3 separate regions of the Homo sapiens genome follow, and regions 2 and 3 are each linked to region 1. The links are contacts of gene promoters, found by promoter capture Hi-C in blood cells and fetal thymus (Javierre and others, 2016). All regions are on one chromosome and are shown on one strand. Each heading gives the region's core, a stretch centred on a gene start or on the middle of the fragment in contact. The rest is flanking DNA. Distances are from core to core; before and after follow the strand shown.

Region 1 (3,060 bases), core at 221-2,720:
CAGCCGACAAGTGATCGCCCACAAGCCTTACTCACCTCTCTCTAAGTTTAGAAGCGCTCATCTGGCTTTTCGCTTGCTTCTGCAGCAACTCCCACGACTGTTGTACAAGCTCAGGAGGCGAATAAATGTTCAAACTGTATGCTGATGTTCCAAATGGGAATTTATTTCAAAGAGGAAAAGTTAATATTTTACTTTAAAAAAATCAAAATAATACAAATAAAAATAATTCTTGGTTTATGGTCTGTGGGAAGGGAATAAAAGGACAAGTAGCAAGGCCAATGTGCATGTTTAGAAAACCTAATCACACCAGCTCACTCAAGCAGAGAAGCTACTGCATGTGCATGCATTGTGTGGAATTAAGACTGGGTTTCTTAGAGAAGGAGGAGAGAAAGGGGGAGAGTAGGAGGGAGAGGGGAAAAGGAGGAGGGAGAGGAAGAGAAAGAAGAGATAAAGTGGGACTAAGAGAAAGAGGGAAGAGAGGAAGAACAAAGACACAGTTCCTTTAAACATCAGGGCTTCCTGAGTGCAAGGCTGCATTAACAGCTTATTAACAACCAGCCAGGGCTGTGTGGACAAAGAAACTTCAGGATGACATTATCGAAGCCAACATCCATTCAAGATTGGAGAGGAAGACAGGAATGCCCAAGAGTGAATCTGAAGTTAGACGTTAAGTGAGGTGCCCAATCACGGCTCTTGGGCACTGCTAGACAGCACTGAAAGAGCTGCATTCTCCTTCCTCCCTTCTCCACTACTGAGAAGGCCTGACAAAGCAAATGCCTCACATGGGCAAGGCTGGCCGTCGCCATGGTTCCCTTACTGATACCAGGTGGGATCCCCAAACATTCCCTCAACTCCAGTTCACAGCAGACACGAGCCTTGACTCTTATGTTCCACAACTTAATTCCAGTTACGACACTGGTCTTCCCGGGGGAAGGCCACTCGGTCATGCCCACCTTAGCCTAAACATGTGGACTGACTTGACTGTAGGCAACGGATGGGACACATCGCTAAGGGGAGGGAAAGGCAAAGAACGAGGTGGCCCCAAAGAGCAGCACCACAGACTTGCCAATTCAGCCATCTGAGCGCTTGTGGGAAACATGCAGGAAGCCGTCTGCAGAGACAGTTGGGGTAATGCCCACACTCTGGAAAACCCCTACCACAGAGGGTGCTAGGAGCCGAGCGTCTCCCCAAGTAAAATTCTGGCCGCCACACATGCAGGCACTAACTACTGATCAGGTGCGGCAGGCAGACAGAAACCCAACTGCTCTCCCTCACATAGAAGCTGTGGTCTGTGAATGCCACCGTCATCCAGGGACTCTTAGAAATGTAGAATCTTGGGCAGCACCCCAGCCCTAATCTATCAGGATCTGCATTTTAACAAGATCCCCAGGCTACTTAGTAAACGGCTGATGGGAAATGGCTTAGAATCCCCTTCCCAGGCGTCACAGCACACTGCAGGCCCCCTACTCACCCCTCCACCCTCAGACAGCCATGCCCCTACCTCCCCAGGCACCTGGCACAAGTGGGTACAGAGATCAACACACTTGTCCTGGAACTTAACTGTCTCAGCTCTGTCACTTAGTTGGGATACGACCTTGATTATCACTAACTGCCCACAGCCCTCTTATCAATAGCTACAGAAGAGGAGCAAAGGCCCAATATGGCCAAAGTGGTCAGGAGATGGTTTCTTTTTGAGAAAGCACCACTGATTGGGCTTGGGAGAGGATGGGTACCAGGCTCTGGACAAATGCTGGTCACCTGATGCTTCCCCCACCAAAGACAAGAACTTACTTCTCTCTCAAAGAAATCACAAGCATTATTAACCGCCTGCCTGGGTCATTCAAATAGAAACAGATATTGCGCACCCACTATGGGCTGGGCACTCTCACCTGTGCCAGGCAACAAGGTGTAGTGCAAAGATCTGGGCTTTGGCCTCGGACCTGAATTTGGATACCAGCTCTGTGATCCAGGCCAAGACTGAATTTCTCAGGCTCCTCACATGTAAAATGCCTACCTTGCTGGGTTACTGCCAAGACTGAACATGAGGTCTCACATGAGCTGTAGCTGGCAAAGGGCCCGGCACGTAGCTAAGCATTCAATTACTACAGCAGCCAGCACTCACTGTCACACCCCTGATGTACACCAGGCACCGTGTTAAATGCTCATGCAGATTAATGTGATTTCACTTCATTTTCACAGCAAGCCTACTTATGAGGGAGAAAACTAAAGCTCAGAGAAATTAAGTAACTTTCCTAAAGCACACAGCAAGCACGTGGCCGACTCACAGCCAACGCCACAGGACTCAGGGGCTGCTTTTTCATCCGGTTCCACAGCCTCTCAGCCAGTGCAGCTTCCCTCGCTCTACTGCCTAGGATGAGAGAGGTTTCCATATTCATTCATTTTCCTTCAGAATACACTGGGTGAACTTGGTAGAGGGGTGAGGACAATTTCAAGTCAACAATGGGCAGAAATATAATTTATCAAAGAAAATGGTTGGAGGACACCCTTGAGAAAATGTATTATTTCAAACATGTTCCTGTATCAGCTTTCTTAAACCCACTCCTTTATGGATCGTTTAATGATACCACTGTAACTTGAGGGTCTCTAAAGTGGGGTGTATGTACCCCTAGGGTGAGCGAGCTATTTGCTGGAGAAAAAAATTCTCCTTGTGAAAAAACTTTTACTTTGTGTATAATTAGCATAAGAGCACACGTATTTAAGTTCTCATGCACTTATAGTTGTGTGTTCAGAAATCATCTTGAGAGAGTGCACAGAAAAGGGTTGAGACGCCTCAACTAAGCTACCCACCTTAATCTGAATCCACCTACAAATGTCACTGGCATTTGGGGGGCCGAGGCAGGTGGATCACCTGAGATGAGGAGTATAAGGCCAAACAGGCCAACATGGCAAAATCTCATCTCTACTTAAAATTTAAAAAAAAAAAAATTAGCCAGTCATGGTATTGGGCGCCTGTAGTCCCAGCTACTCAGAAGGCTGAGGCACGAGAATCACTTGAACCTGGGAGGTGGAGGTTGCAGTGAGCTGAGATCAGGCCACTGC
Region 2 (3,409 bases), core at 880-3,379, 290 kb after region 1:
AACCCAAACCCCAAACTACTGGCCCATCCAGTTTTCTAAGTTCTATACTGTTAATATACTGAACGTTCAGCCAGCAAAACATTATTCCCAGTTTATAAATTCCAGTTTGAATAATTTACATTTCCAGAGGAATTATCACCTAAAATCCAGTTTTGAATGGCCAAAGAGTGATAGTTCAAATAGGTCCATATTTACGTTTCTACTAGTTTCTACAGCCTGGTCCTATTCCCCTCAAGGTTTTTATAAGCTACTTAGAATAGGATACGAAAGGCTAGTTTGTCATAATTGCAAACTGCATTGAGATAGACAATTAAAATGTTAATGCAAAAATAAAATTCAAAAATTTCAATGGGTTTGAACAATGGACTGAAATAAGATGAAATTTTACATGAGAGCTGTAAAGCTTTCTGTTTTAGATTAAAAATCAATAGTCTCTGACACTTACTAAGTAATGAACAGAGAATGTACTCTGGAGCAGCTGTTCTTGAATGCAGCCTGATCGAATCTTATTTCTTAGCACCCTTTCAATGTACTTCTTTGTCTGAGTATTGGTGCTATAGATGATGAAAAGCATCACCAGGTCAATAAATATGCAATAATAGAAAAACAGTTAACCAATCAGTACATTTGCTACAATGAAACAGCAGCTTTTCCTCTAATTAAAACACACAATGGATGATGCTCATTTGTTCCACACACTCCCCTGGTAGTATCTACACTTTTCACAAAACCCAGAAATATTTTTTAAAGAAATAAAGTGCCACAACTATTAACCACTGGTATCTCTTAGGAATACATTCCAATATACATTAAAGTGATACTACTACAGAAGTAACTTTGAACATCTTCACATTTATTAAAAGATTCAATCACTTGCCAACTCCAGTATGTATTTTCACTATTACTAGAAAAATTACTTTGTGAAAAGTTGGAAAGACTATAAATGCCCATCAATCTGGAAAGGGTTCAGTAAATTATGATGGAGTAATTTTAATTTTTGAAATATTATAGTCATCAAAAAGGATAAGCCAGGCTGGGCGTGGGGGCTCACACCTGTAATCCCAGTACTTTGGGAGGCTGAGGTACACATATCACCTGAGGTTAGGAGTTCGAGACCAGCCTGGCCAACACGGTGAAACCCCATTTCTACTAAAAAATACAAAAAAAAATTGGCCAGTCGTGGTGGCAACTGCCTGCAATCCCAGCTACTCAGGAGGCTGAGGCAGGTCAACGACTCGAACCCGGGAGGTGCAGGTTGCAATGAGCCGAGATTGTGCCACTGCACTCCAGCCTGGGTGACACAGCGAGACTCTGTCTAAAAAAGACTTTTTAATTACAAAATTTAAAAAAAAAAGAAAAAGGTAGATCAGGGGTCCCCAACTCCTGGATCACGGAGTCTGTGGTCTGCTAGGAACCAAGCTGCACAGCAGGAGGTGAGGGGTGGTCAAGTGGTCATTACCACTGAGATCCGCCTCCTGTCAGATTAGCGGCTGCATTAGATTCTCACGGGAGCGCAAACCCCATTGTGAACTGCACATGCGCAGGATCTAGGCTGCACATTCCTTATGAGAATCTAAGTAGTGCCTGATGATCTAAAGTTGAACAGTTTCATCCTGAAATCATGCCCCGAAACGGTCTGTGGAAAAACTGTCTTCCATGAAACCAGTCCCTGGTGCCAAAAAGGTTAGGGACTGCTGAGCCATACTCTATTTTTTGACAGAGGAAAGACATTCCTGATATGAAGTGGAAAAAACAGCAGCCTGCAAAAGGATAATCAGGCTGGGCATGAAGGCTCATGCCTATAATCCCACTGCTTTGGGAGGCTGAGGAGGGAGGATCATTGAGCCCAGGAGGTGGAGGCAACAGTGAGCTACGATTGTGCCACTGCACTCCAGCCTGGCGACAGAGTGAGACCCTGTCTCTTTAAACACCACCACCACCACCCATAATCATAGTTAAGATTCTGCTTTTGTAAAAACAATATATAAACATATATATGTGTAGGCATAAGAGTATACCTGTACTTGCACACAATTACAGCTTGTATATGAAGAGAAAAAATTTGGAAGGATGATTACCCCTGAGGAATGGGAAAGAGAGCAGAGAAAAACTGTATTTTTTACATCTGTAGATTCCTTGTGGATTTTTCTCCACAATTAGCTTGTTTACCTAAGTTTAAAAAAGAAAAATATGAGGGCTGGGTGCAGTGGCTCATGCCTATAATCCCAGCACTTTGGGAGGCCCAAGCAGGAGGATCACTTGAAGCTAAAAATTTGAGACCAGCCTGGGAAACACAGCAAGACCTCATCTCTATAAAAAATAAAAGAATGGCCGGGCGCGGTGGCTCACACCTGTAATCCCAGCACTTTGGGAGGCCAAGGCGGGCAGATCACGAGGTCAGGAGATCGAGACCATCCTGGCTAACATGGTGAAACCCCGTCTCTACTAAAAATACAAAAAATTAGCCAGGCGAGGTGGTGGGCGCCTATAGTCCCAACTACTCAGGAGGCCGAGGCAGGAGAATGGCGTGAACCCGGGAGGCGGAGCTTGCAGTGAGCCGAGATCGTGCCACTGCACTACAGCCTGGGCGACAGCGAGACTCCGTCTCAAAAAATAAATAAATAAATAAATAAATAAAAGAATTGGCCAGGCGTGGTGGCTCACACCTGTAATCCTAGCACTTTGGGAGGCTGAGGCAGGTGGGTGGATCACCTGAGTCAGGAGTTTGAGACTAGCCTGGCCAATATGGTGAAATCCCATCTCTGCTAAAAATACAAAAATTAGCCAGGCATGGTGGCAGGCACCTATAATCCCAGCTACTAGGGAGGCTGAGGCAGGAGATTTGCTTCAACCCAGGGGCCAGAGGTTGCAGTGAACCGAGATTGTGGCACTTCACTATAGCCTAGGCAAAAGAGCGAAACTCTCTCAAAATAACTAACTAACTAACTAACAGAATTAGCCAGGCCTGGTGGTGCTTGCCTGTAGTCCCAGCTACTCCAAAGACTGAGGTGGGGGGATCGCTTGAACCCGGGTGTTTGAGACTGCAATGAACTATGATGCTGTCACCGCACTCCACCTTCGGTGACAGAGCAAGACTTAGTCTCTTAAAAAAAAAAAAAAAAAAAAAAAAAGAGAAAGGCCCGGCACGGTGGCTCACACCTGTAATCCCAGGACTTTGGGAGGCTGAGGTGGATCATAAGGTCAGGAGATCCAGACCATCCTGGCTAACAACGTGAAACCCCATCTCTACTAAAAATACAAAAAATTAGCCGGGCGTGGTGGCAGGCGCCTGTAGTCCCAGCTACTCGGGAGGCTGAGGTAGAAGAATGGCATGAACCCAGGAGGTGGAGCTTGCAGTGAGCTGAGATTGCGCCACTGCCTGCACTCCAGCCTGGGTGACAGAGCAAGA
Region 3 (3,233 bases), core at 22-2,521, 310 kb after region 1:
TATAGTCCTCGGTACTGTATTTCCTGAAATCCATGTCTCATCCCTTCTTGTAAGTATGGAACACACCCAGTGGCTCACGCCTGTAATCCCAGCACTTTGGGAGGCTGAGGTGGGCGGATCACTTGAGGTCAGGAGTTCGAGACCAGCTTGGCCAACATGGTGAGACCCCATCTCTAATAAAAATATAAAAATTAGCCAGGCATGGTGGTGTGTGCCTGTAGTCCCAGCTACTCAGGAGGTTGAGGCAGGAGAATCTCTTGAACCCAGGTGGCAGAGGTTGCAGTGAGCCAAGATTGCGCCACTGCACTCCAGCCTGGGTAACAGGGTGAGACTCCGTCTCAAAAAAAAAAAAAGTATGGAACACACCAACACTTGTGATTTCCTCTAGGGAATGGAATTCAGAATGGGAGTCACCTTTGGATTTTTTGAAATATAGTTCTGTATTGGTGAGACTGCTTTAACAACTTGTATTTCTTCTGTGGTTGTGCTTTGGATGAATATAGCCCATCCAAGGTGACTTCTTTACAAACACTGAACAACTTTGGGTGGTAGGGAAGTGGGAACTGCATTACTCTCTGATATAATAACTAACCACACCATTTTCATTTTGCTTTGCCAGGGTGAGTTCTGCATCCTGGTACTTCCTCAATGTATTTGGGCTTCGGAGCATTTACTCTCTGATTCTGGGCCAAGATAATGGTAAGAAGCATGTCAGGTTTACTAAGCAAATACTTCCATAGATGAATCATCCATATTAGAGCCAGAAAAGTCTTGTAGGTTGTGCTGTTTGTTACCATAGTCAAATAAAATGTTTCCTTCCTTAAGTTTCTGAGGTATTCTGAAAGAGTCTTAAAAATTCCGGGGGTCAAACTGAAGATCTCAATTCTCTCTGGCAATGACTGGGACAGTATTTTGATTCCCCAGAGTCTGATACCATCATGTGAGGGATCCAGCACCAGCAGTGTAAGCCTGTGAACCTAAAGCTTAAAGAAGGCTTGGTTTGTCAGTTCATTGACTAGAGCCCTTGCCAGTACTAATCCTTGCTCTCTTGTTTACTGGCTGGGACCTCAGAAAAGTTACTTAACAAGTTACTTAACTTCGAATTCTCTATTTACTTATCTGTAAATAAGGACTTTATTAGTTAACCTGTGGGGTTGTTAGGAACAGATGAGGAAAAATATGCAAAGCACTTAGTGAAGTACTTGGCATGCAGTAGTTGCTCAATAACTGGTGGCTGTTATTGTTGAAATTTGAAATAAAGTTTAGAGCTTCCTTTAGTGATCTCTCTTTTGCTGTTACTGTCCCCATTTTTCAGGAGACACAAAGTGACTTTCCTAGAGTCACATAGCCAGTGGGTGACAGGGCCAGCCAGTGAGGCTGTAGTCCAGTTCTCTAATCTGTGTGAAGCCCATTCTTCCCCTTGGGTGCTGGGGTGCTTGCTGAGTCCTGGCACTCATGTAAGTGTGTCTTATGCTACAGCCGCTGACCAATCACGAATGATGCAGGAGCAGATGACGGGAGCAGCCATGGCCATGCCCGCAGACACAAACAAAGCTTTCAAGGTATACTCCTTCACCTTTCAAAGCTGCAGCAATGCTCTGAAAGGTGTTACCAAGAGCTATTTTAAAAATAGCTTCCTTGAAGGGAGTGTTGTGTGGTTCCATCGTTTTAATTTAAACTTAGTAAAAACATAGTTTACACGTCTCTCTTTCCTGAGACAGAATCATCTATTAAGTAAATGGAAATTCTTGGTGCTTTTACTGGTTTTTAAATGCTCACTGGAATTTAATCCACACTATCAATGATGCTGTAAAATAATCCAATCGGAGGTGCCAGGTAAACATTTAGAATAATTTGAACCTTTTTGAACCCCATAGACATCAGATATAAATTGCATTAAAAAAACAATACTAAGAGCCTTTTCACAAAAAGGTTCTAGAATTTGCAAAATTTAGTATGATTTTTGTGGGACAAAATCTCACTGTGTTTCATGATAGAAACTAAAAGAGAAGGGAAGTTCCGGCCAGGCACAGGGGCTCACACGTGTAATCCCAGCACTTTGGGAGGCCAAGGTGGGCAGATCACCTGAGTTCAGGAGTTCGACACCAGCCTGGACAACATGGTGAAACCCTGTCTCTATTAAAAATACAAAAATGGGCCAGGTGCGGTGGCTCACGCCTGTAATCCCAGCACTTTGGGAGGCCAAGGCAGGTGGGTCAGCTGAGGTCAGGAGTTCAAGACCAGCCTGGCCAACATGGTGAAACCTCTTTTCTACTAAAGATACAAAAAAAAAATTTGCTGGGCATGGTGGTGGGCACCTGTAATCCCAGTTACTTGGGAGGCTGAGACAGAATTGCTTGAACTCAGGAGGTGGAGTTTGCAGTGAGCTGAGATTGATTGCACCATTGCACTCCAGCCTGGGCAACAAGAGCAAAACTCTGTCTCAAAAAAAAAAAAAAAATACAAAAATGAGCTGGGCACGGTGGCATGTGCCTATAATCCCAGCCACCCAGGAGGCTGAGGCAGGAGAATCACTGGAACCTGGGAGGCGGAGGCTGTAGTGAGCCAAGATCGTGCCACTGCACTCCAGCCTGGATGACAGACCAAGATTCCGTCTCAAAAAAAAAAAGAGAGAAATTTCTCAGCCTGATAAAGGACATCTATGACAGACCCACAGCTAACATCATACTCAATGGTGAAAGACTGAAAGCTTTCCCTTTAAGATTAAGAACAAGACAAGGATGTCTGTTCTTGCCACTTCTATTCATCATTGTCCAGGATGTACTAGCCAGGGCAGTTAGGCAAGAAAAAGAAATAAAAAAGCCATTCAGATTAGAAAGGAAGTAAAACTATCTCTGTTTGCAAATGGCATGGTGTTGTATGTAGATCATCCTAAAGAATCCACAAGAAAACTAACAGAGCTAATAAATAAGTTCAACATCAATTGTATTTCTATACACTGGTAATGAAGAATTGGAAATGAAAGGAAAACAATTTTATTTATAATAGTATCAAAACGAATAAAATATTTAGGAACAAATCTAACAAAAGAAATGGCCGTGGCCGGGCATGGTGGTTAACGCCTGTAATCCTAGCACTTTGGGAGGCTGAGGTGGGCAGATCACAACGTCAAGAGATCAAGACCATCCTGGCCAACGTGGCGAAACGCCATCTCTACTAAAAATACAAAAATTAGCTGTGCATGGTGGTGCCTGCCTGTAGTCCCAGCTACT

The links. Contacts are between HindIII fragments. The CHiCAGO score rates a contact against its expected background, and 5 or more counts as called.
Region 2: a contact is called between a fragment that was not itself captured here and the fragment with the promoter of LINC00852 in region 1, in 1 of 17 cell types (activated CD4 T cells). The highest score is 7.4, in activated CD4 T cells.
Region 3: a contact is called between a fragment that was not itself captured here and the fragment with the promoter of LINC00852 in region 1, in 6 of 17 cell types (endothelial precursors, activated CD4 T cells, non-activated CD4 T cells and 3 more). The highest score is 9.7, in endothelial precursors.

The regions. Positions count from the first base shown.
Region 1 is chr3:10,282,829-10,285,888 of GRCh38, reverse strand. LINC00852 (long intergenic non-protein coding RNA 852) reads right to left here and starts at 1,470. Exons shown (of 1, transcript NR_026829.1): 1 at 143-1,470. It overlaps GHRL (ghrelin and obestatin prepropeptide), which reads left to right. Exons shown (of 6, transcript NM_016362.5): 6 at 1-223. The coding sequence ends at 14. GHRLOS (ghrelin opposite strand/antisense RNA) reads right to left here. Exons shown (of 6, transcript NR_073568.1): 2 at 2,286-2,368; 3 at 36-141. The HindIII fragment of the contact is 4,911 bases long and covers 1-3,060 here.
Region 2 is chr3:9,990,048-9,993,456 of GRCh38, reverse strand. The region is part of intron 2 of EMC3-AS1 (EMC3 antisense RNA 1); the gene reads right to left. It also overlaps a transcript of EMC3 not described here and the pseudogene FANCD2P1. Among named protein-coding and RNA genes, the nearest start is that of EMC3-AS1, 4.9 kb to the right of the region's middle. The HindIII fragment of the contact is 3,447 bases long and covers 406-3,409 here.
Region 3 is chr3:9,968,048-9,971,280 of GRCh38, reverse strand. EMC3 (ER membrane protein complex subunit 3) reads left to right here. Exons shown (of 8, transcript NM_001394674.1): 6 at 620-699; 7 at 1,480-1,562. Among named protein-coding and RNA genes, the nearest start is that of EMC3, 17 kb to the left of the region's middle. The HindIII fragment of the contact is 571 bases long and covers 986-1,556 here.